Linked DNA regions of Homo sapiens: regions 2 and 3 are each linked to region 1. Evidence: promoter capture Hi-C in human tissues and cell types (Jung and others, 2019). All regions are on one chromosome and are shown on one strand. Each heading gives the region's core, a stretch centred on a gene start or on the middle of the fragment in contact. The rest is flanking DNA. Distances are from core to core; before and after follow the strand shown.

Region 1 (2,700 bases), core at 72-2,571:
GGTCACTACAGATGTTGGGGAGCAAGGGCTAGGATCACTTTTTAAAAAATCACCACTTGTGGCTGTCCCAGAGTGCGGTTGTACATCCTCCCCACCTCATAACGCAGCCACTGAGGAAGAGTGGTTTTCCTAAGAAGACATTGCTGGAGTTGACTTTCTTCTGTCCAAACAAACAAACAAAAACTAAACACACACACAAACCCCCAGAAACCCACAATATGTACACGCTAAGGAAAAACTAGCACCCTTCTGTCCACTCAGCAATAAGAGGGATCTCTTCCCACCTACCCTACCTACTCCTACCCCCAACCCCCTTCCCCATTAATGTGAGTAATGAATTAGCCTGACCACAGGTGGTCACTGTAGGCTAATGGAAAATACCCAAGGGAGGGCAAAGCCCCCCATCAGATGCATGAATGTTTGCGAATGTTGACTGCCACTGCCCCACACACTGTGTCTTTATAGAATTCCCCTTTGCCCACCCTCTTCCTGTCTCCACCTGGACACAACTTGCTCAAAGGCTGGTGACTTGTGGGCCATTCATCTACAACCAAGTCCTGATGGAGCAAGAGGCCCACGCCTAGGGGATGCAAGAACAACCCGTTTCTTAAATGTTACCAGTCCCAGCCAATCTTACGGTGACATTACAGTTAAATTTCCCAATTGAAAACAAGCAAACAGACACTCAAACTGGTCCTGTAATTGTTGCTAGACTTTATGTGTTGTACAACTAAACATTGCTGTTTGAACAGTAACTGCCTGGCCTGTCTTATTTGTGCTCCTTGACCAAATCAGCCATTATGTCATCTCACCCATGTGTGGAGGGTGAGACTCTCTTGGTAAGAAATAGCCACAGATATTAGAGATGAAAACACTTTGTGAGGTCAGTTCATCTTCAGTTGGCGTCAGGTCGGGCCTCAGTCATTATTTTCTAGTGTTTCATAACCAAAGTGAGTAATGGATGGGAGGTTGAGGTGGGAAGATGGCTTGAGCATGGGAGGTTGGAGGTGCAGTGAGCTGAGATCATTCCTGACAGGACCAACCCAAGTCCATACCTAAAGGCAGGGGGCTAAGGGGGCAGGTGAGGTCGGGAGGCCACTCACCTATCACTCACCCCTTCGCGCTCGAGCCAATTCTCAGGGCCCGCCTCTTTCTCCCCTTTCTCGGCGGGGGCCTCTACCCTGACTCCGCCCCGCTCCCCGGGCACTGCCCCACCACGTGACCCGGTCTCGCTCCTCCTCCTCCTCCTCCTTACGTCATAATCTCCGCCCTCCCCTTCAGAACCGCGCCCCACAGCTCGGCGCAGGTCCCGCCCCTTTCCATCTACGGGGCGGCAGGAGGCCCGAAGCAAGATGGCGGTGAATCAGAGCCACACCGAGAACCGCCGCGGAGCCCTCATCCCTAACGGTGAAAGGTGCCTGAGGGGAAGCACGGCGTGCTGTCGGAGGAGAGGAGACGAATGAGATAGACATGGCGGCTCGCAAACTCTCAGCGAGTCAGGGACTTTGCCGCCTTTTTTGGGCGCGGCGCTCTTAGCTCCGCCCCCGACCTTTGGGAGCGCGCGCCCCTCACTGGTGTTCCGGCATGTGGAGGTGGCGGAGGCCGGAACGCGTGGCCTCGCGCGTTTGAGGGGTGGGGGTGGGAATGCGCCTTTTCAAGGCGCGGGGCCCAGACGCATGTCTCCTCAGGGCGGGGCGGGGAGGGGGTGCGAGACGCGTGTGTCCTTCGAAGAGAGGCCGGAGCTGACCGGCGGTTGTGAGCAGCCGGGGGCCTTCGGTGGCAGCGTGGCTGCCCTTGGGTGCCTGCGACTTTGTTGGATGAGGACAGGTACTGGGTGTGTATCTCCTCCTACTTCCACGAACAAGGTGTCGCTCTTTGGTAAGAGGGATGAGGAGGTCGAGTGTGGATCATTCTGGAAAGATCTCAAACTGTTGTGGGGCTTCTCCTTGGACCTGGAAACTTTCTAAAGCCATGTTTCCTCCTTGCTCCAACCAGGGAGATGTCTGCTTTTAAAAACAAAATTGAAAAAATTGAGGCCAGGTGCAGTGGCTCATGCCTCTTATCCCAACAGTTTGGGAAGCTGAGGTGGCCCAGGAGTTTGAGACAAGACTGGGCAACATAGTGAGACCCCATCTCTACAAAAAGTAGAAAATTAGTGGGCCATGGTGGTGTGCACCCATAATCCCAGCTGCTTGGGAGGCGATGGTAAGAGGATTGCTTGAACCCAGGAGTTTGGGCTGCAGTGAGCTCAGATTGTACCACTGCACTCCAGCCTGGGTAACAGAGCCAGATCCTGTCTTAAAATAAAAGATGGGACTGAACAGATGCCTGGGCACAACAAAGCACTGTTGGTCGCAGGAAGCTGTGGGGCTTACACCAGTTGCTTTGCTCCTTGCGGTGCCTGCTGCTGGCCCCTGAGCTCTCTACTGGAGCAGACTCAGCCAGAGGGGTGCCCATCTCCACCTTCAAGCACACTTGTTCACTAAGGCCTGACTCCACTGCGCTCACCTCTTTACCCCACACGCCCCCTTTCCCGTTTCCTACACTCAAACTCAGTCTCCCCCGCTGTGCAGTTCTAAATTGCGCTCCTTTCTGGGCTCTGACTTGCCCTCAATTTCCTTTTCTCCCAACCAGCATTGAAACTCAAGCTGGATGATGTGCTTGGGGCCAGCACACTCAGGTCAGTTTGAATGTAGTTGT
Region 2 (2,700 bases), core at 79-2,578, 200 kb before region 1:
TTTTGCTGTTTACCCTCTTGGATGCTGGAGAGAATTCCTTCCTCAGACCTGAGATTTTGAGGCTCATGACCCTGGTAAGTGCAGAAAGGATATCTTGTGGTCTGAGGAGTGTCATGAGCTGGGTGGTGCTGAAGAGGCCAGGGTCTCCTTACTTTAGGTAACCCTAATCCTTAAAGAAGGTGGAAGGGCTCGGCAGGCCTTCACCCTACAAGAGACTTGCTGAAAGAATTCCTCTGAATGCCCATATCTCCTCACTCCAGGGGACTCCGACACCCTTTCCCCTATTTCTCTCATGACATGTTGACCAGGGCCTGTCTACCACATGCCAGGTCTGCTAGATACTAAGGATATCAATGAACCAGATACTCTGCCTTTAGGGTCCCTCAGTCTAAAGAGGACGACAGACAAGTAAACTAGTAATGTAAATATGATGCTACAAGTGGTAGAGTAGAGGAGATGCTAACTGTGGGGCACACAGTAAGTGCCCCTTGAATAAATAACAAAGCAGCAGGCCTAAGAATGACAGCGAAGTGGATCATCAACAAGTACATCAGTGGTTGGTGTAGGAACAAAGAGGAAAGAGTAATTGCTTCTCAGCAGTGAAGGTAACATTTTAGCTGTGGCTTGAGAGATTAATAGGCAGAGAGGAGGAAAGGTATTCCAGGTAGTGAAGTACAAACAACAGGTACAAGAGCACATGGTGGTATGTCAGGGGAGCCACACGTAGTTCATTTTGGCCATGAGTGTTCAGTGCAAGGTTGGGTAGGAGGGAGCCAAGGCCAAAGGGGTCAGGAGGGCCAGCTCTCTCAGGATCTCACAGGTTGCCTTACTTACCCCACTTCCCCATGACACAGTCCCACCTCTGCCCACTAACTCTGAGCTCCTTGAAGGCAGGCAGGTTCTGTGGGCTTCAGGACAGTGTCTCCTAAAGTTGGGGCACAGCAGTTGTCTATGATGAAGGAGATGCCAAATCACTGGGTGTTTGGGGGTTTCTCTTCCTGGGCCAGTTTATGCGGTACCGGAGTAGCAGTGTCCTCTCTCATGAAGAGGTGGGTGATGTTCTGCAAGGTGTGGCTTTGGCTGACCTGTCTACCCTCTCGAACACCACACTCCAGGCCCTGCATGGCTTCTTCCAGCAGGTGGGTGGGAAGGGGAGGCCATGCAGCCACTGTAAAGCTAGACCCTCAACACCATCTTCTCTTGGAGGGTGGGAGCTCTGGCCACAGCAACCAAGGAATGGGAGGAGGGAAGTACAGAGGATGGAGGCAGTTAGGGCCTGTGTGGAATGGGCACTGAGGAGGCCTGTCTTCCCTGCCCTCTTCTCCCTGCAGCTCCAGAGCATGGGACACCTGGCTGACCACAGCATGGCCCAGACCCTGCAGGCCTCCTTGGAGGGCCTTCCCCCTAGCACCTCCTCAGGCCAGCCACCCCTGCAGGACATGCTGTATCCTTTCTTGCATCTATGATGAAGGAGATGCCAAATCACTGGGTGTTTGGGGCTTCTCTTCCTGGGCCAGTTTATGCGGTACCGGAGTAGCAGTGTCCTCTCTCATGAAGAGGTGGGTGATGTTCTGCAAGGTGTGGCTTTGGCTGACCTGTCTTGGCCTGGGCAAGCTCTCCCAGGCCATAAGAAGCTGTGGCATCATGCTTCAGGACCTAGGTGCACTAGTCTTCTAAAGTAAGCAGGGGTCAATTAACAGTGTTGACAACAACAATGCCGTGTCCTGTTAATATTAAGTTCCTACAGAAAGCAGGCACATTACATGCATTTTACATATATATATATTTATTTATTCATTTTTGAGATGGAGTCTTGCTCCGTCGCCCAGGCTGGAGTGCAGTGGCACGATCTTGGCTCACTGTAACCTCCGCCTCCCAGGCTCAAGCGATTCTCCTGCCTCAGCCTCCCGAGTAGCTGGGACTACAGGTGCCTGCCACCACGCCCAGGTTTTTTTTTTTTTTTTCTATTTTTAGTAGAGACAGGGTTTCACCATATTGGACAGGCTGGTCTCGAACTCCTGACCTTGCGATCTGCCCCCCTCGGCCTCCCAAAGTGCTGGGATTACAGGCATGAGCCACCATGCCCGGCTACATGCATTATATTTAATCCTCACATCAGCTAGGAGTGTTAAGGTACTTGTAGTACAGGTTGAGCATCCCTAATACAAAAATTAGAAATCCAAAGTGCTCCAAAATCTGAAACTTTTTGAGTGCTGATGTGATGCTACAGGTGGAAAATTCCATACCTGACTTCACATGATGAGTTGCAGTCAAAATGTAGCCAAAACTTTGTTTCATGAATAGGCCAAGTGCGGTGGCTCACGCCTGAGGCCAGGAGTTTGAGACCAGTCTGGCCAACATGGTGAAACCTCATCTCTATGAAAAATACCAAAATTAGCTGGGTGTGGTGGCATGTGCCTGTAGTCCTAGCTACTCGGGAGGCTGAGGCACAAGAATCGCTTGAATCGGGGATGCGGAGGGCAGTGAGCCAAGATCACACCACTGTACTGCACCCTGGGCGACAAAACATGACTCTGTCCCAGAAAAAAAACAAAAAATTTTGTTTCATGAATAAAATTATATTTTTTACATTCTTTTTATTTATTTTTTTTAAGACAGTGTCTTGCTTTGTCACCCAGGCTGGAGTGCACTGGTGTGAACATAGCTCACTGTAGCCTTCACCTCCTGGGCCCAAGGGAT
Region 3 (2,700 bases), core at 56-2,555, 240 kb before region 1:
GAGGTCCTGTCTTTCAATCTCTCATCCACTCACTGCTGGAAGGATTATCTGAAAACAAAGTCTTAACATCTTAACTCCCCTGGCTTTCAGCTGTGGTCTCCACACATCAGTCTGTGGAGTAGTGTCAAATAGTGATGAAGTTTTCTCTGGTCCATGGTGAAATGTGGAACATAAGGATAAAGTTGACTTTATTTAGGTTTTTTTGTTTGTTTTGTTTTTTGAGGCAGAGTCTCAGTCTGTTGCCCAGGCTGGAGTTGAGTGATGTCAGCTCACTGCAACCTCCACCTCCCAGATTCAAGTGATTCTTGTGTCTCAGCCTCACGAATAGCTGGGACTACAAGCATATGTCACCATGCCCAGGTGATTTTTTTGTATTTTTAGTAGAGATGGGGTTTTGCCATGTTGGCCAGGCTGGTCTTGAACTCCTGGCCTCAAACAATCTACCTGCCTTGGACTCCAAAGTGCTAGGATTACAGGTGTGAGCCACCGCACCTGGCCTTTATTCAAATTTTAAACTCTGAAGTCAGTCTTTTTCTTTCCTTTTTTTTTGTTTTGGGACAGCGTCTTGTTCTGTTGCCCAGGCTGGAGTGCAGTGGCGTGATCTCGGCTCATTGCAACCTCCACCTCCCGGGTTCAAGCAATTCTCCTGCGTCAGCTTCCTGAGTAGCTAGGACTACAGGCACTTGCCACCACGCTTGTCTAATTTTTGTATTTTTAATAGAGACAGGGTTTTGCCATGTTGGCCAGGCTGGTCTCGAACTCCTGACCTCAGGTGATCCACCTGCCTTGGTTTCCCAAAGTGCTGGCATTACCGGCTTGAGCCACCACGCCTATCCTTCTTTCCTGTTCTTTTGGTATTAAAATATTCTTTCTTTTATGAAACCGTTTTCGTAAGAAATCTAGAAGTCTCTGCCCTCAGGATGAAGTCCCAATTCCTTAAGTGGCATTTGCTTAAAGGTCTTTCACAGTCCAACTGCAGATTACATCACATAGTTCCCCAGCTTCTGACACCCCACATCTATTCACTGACTATCCAGTGACACTGAATGGAAACATGGCATGTCTTCTCATGCCTTCAGGCCTCTGAACACCTTGCTTCCTTTTCTCTTTTCTCCTGTCGCTGCCTCTTTTCTCCTCACCCTCCACAGTTTGTTTCTTTCTTTCTTTCTTTTTTTGAGACGGAGTCTCGCTCTGTCGCCCATGCTGGAGTGCAGTGACATGATCTCGGCTCACTGCAGGCTCCGCCTTCTGGGTTCACGCCATTCTCCTGCCTCAGCCTCCCAAGTAGCTGGGACTACAGGGGCCCGCCACCTCGCCTGGCTATTTTTTTGTATTTTTAGTAGAGACGGGTTTTCACCGTGTTAGCCAGGATGGTCTTGATCTCGTGACCTCGTGATCCGCCAGCCTCGGCCTCCCAAAGCTTGCTTTCTTTTTTCTGAGATGGAGTTTCGCGCTTGTCATTCAGGCTGGAGTGCAATGGTGCCATCTCAGCTCACTGCAACCTCTGCCTCCCAGGTTCAAGCGATTCTCCCACCTCAGCCTCCCAAGTAGCTGGGATTACAGGCGCCCGCCATCATAGCCGGCTAATTTTTGTATTTTTGTAGGGACGGGGTTTCACTATGTTGGCCAAGCTGGTCTTGAACTCCTGACCTCAGGTGATATACCCTCCTCAGCCTCCCAAAGTGCTGGGATTACAGCCTGGCCCACAGTTTCTTCCTCTTTGACCTTTCCTTCCCCATGCCAGGCAGCCTGAGTCACTCCCTCCTCAATATAGCGCTGATCACATGTCCTGCAATTGCCTGTCTCATTATGTGTCTCTTCCCATCAGCTGCCAGTTCCTGGAGGTAGGGCCTGGGTCTCACAGCCTGTCCTGAGTAGTAGCCACTCAATGAACATATGTCAAATGAATGAAAGAATGAATGTTTTTGGGAGGCCAAGGTGGGTGAATCACCTGAGGTCAGGAGTTTGAGACCAGCCTGGCCAACATGGCAAAACCCTGCCTCTACTAAAAATACAAAAAATTAGCTGGGCGTGGTGGTGGGTGCCTGTAATCACAGCTACTTGGGAGGCTGAGGCAGGAGAATTGCTTGAACCCAGAACGGGGAGGTTGCAGTGAGCCGAGATCATGCCATTGCACTCCAGCATGGGCAACAGAGCGAGACTCTGTCAAAAGAAAAACAAAACAAAAAAGGAATGAACGTTAATTTTTGAGACATATCCATGTCCTTCTGCTTGTGAAGTTTAGTCTTTCCCGGTAGGTTGAACCTTGCTCAAAGGAAGAGGAGCCTCTGATTTCCTTATTTCCCACTATACTGCATTTACCCTTGCTGCCCTGTGCAGTACTCTGCATGTAGTAGGTACTAATGTGCTGATTACCTGTTCTTCTATGTTCTCTGTGTGGCTTTCCTCTACTTATTCCCTCCCTAGAACTCTCTGCAGTGTCTGAGCTCCTGCAGCATGGGCTGCCCCAGATAAGCAGCAGGAGCCCTGAAAGCCTTGCCTTCCTGTCTGATCGCCAGTACATGGAGGGAGCTGCTCGCCAGAGACAGTACTGCATCCTGCTCCTCTTCTACTTGGCCTACATCCATGAAGACAGGTCAGTGCACAGAGGTGGGTGGCTGGTGGTGGGTCTTGGGACCTTCATCAGCAGTTCAGTTCAATAAATAAGGGCATCTCTCCAAGCCTGATGCTGGGCACTGG

The links. Contacts are between HindIII fragments. The study calls those that stand out against the background at their distance.
Region 2: a fragment that was not itself captured here is called in contact with the fragment with the promoter of WBP2NL in region 1 in 2 of the 25 tissues and cell types used here (H1 embryonic stem cells and small bowel).
Region 3: a fragment that was not itself captured here is called in contact with the fragment with the promoter of WBP2NL in region 1 in 1 of the 25 tissues and cell types used here (aorta).

Annotation. Positions count from the first base shown.
Region 1 is chr22:41,997,467-42,000,166 of GRCh38, forward strand. It overlaps WBP2NL (WBP2 N-terminal like), which reads left to right and starts at 1,322. Exons shown (of 6, transcript NM_152613.3): 1 at 1,322-1,414. The coding sequence starts at 1,353. It overlaps SEPTIN3 (septin 3), which reads left to right. Exons shown (of 12, transcript NM_001363845.2): 12 at 1-755. RefSeq lists enhancers at 872-1,388, 1,389-1,903 and a silencer at 1,215-1,274. The HindIII fragment of the contact is 18,305 bases long and covers 1-2,700 here.
Region 2 is chr22:41,794,404-41,797,103 of GRCh38, forward strand. It overlaps MEI1 (meiotic double-stranded break formation protein 1), which reads left to right. Exons shown (of 31, transcript NM_152513.4): 28 at 1-74; 29 at 1,008-1,139; 30 at 1,332-1,444. Among named protein-coding and RNA genes, the nearest start is that of CCDC134, 4.9 kb to the right of the region's middle. The HindIII fragment of the contact is 6,025 bases long and covers 1-2,700 here.
Region 3 is chr22:41,755,938-41,758,637 of GRCh38, forward strand. It overlaps MEI1 (meiotic double-stranded break formation protein 1), which reads left to right. Exons shown (of 31, transcript NM_152513.4): 18 at 2,428-2,596. Among named protein-coding and RNA genes, the nearest start is that of CCDC134, 43 kb to the right of the region's middle. The HindIII fragment of the contact is 4,539 bases long and covers 1-2,700 here.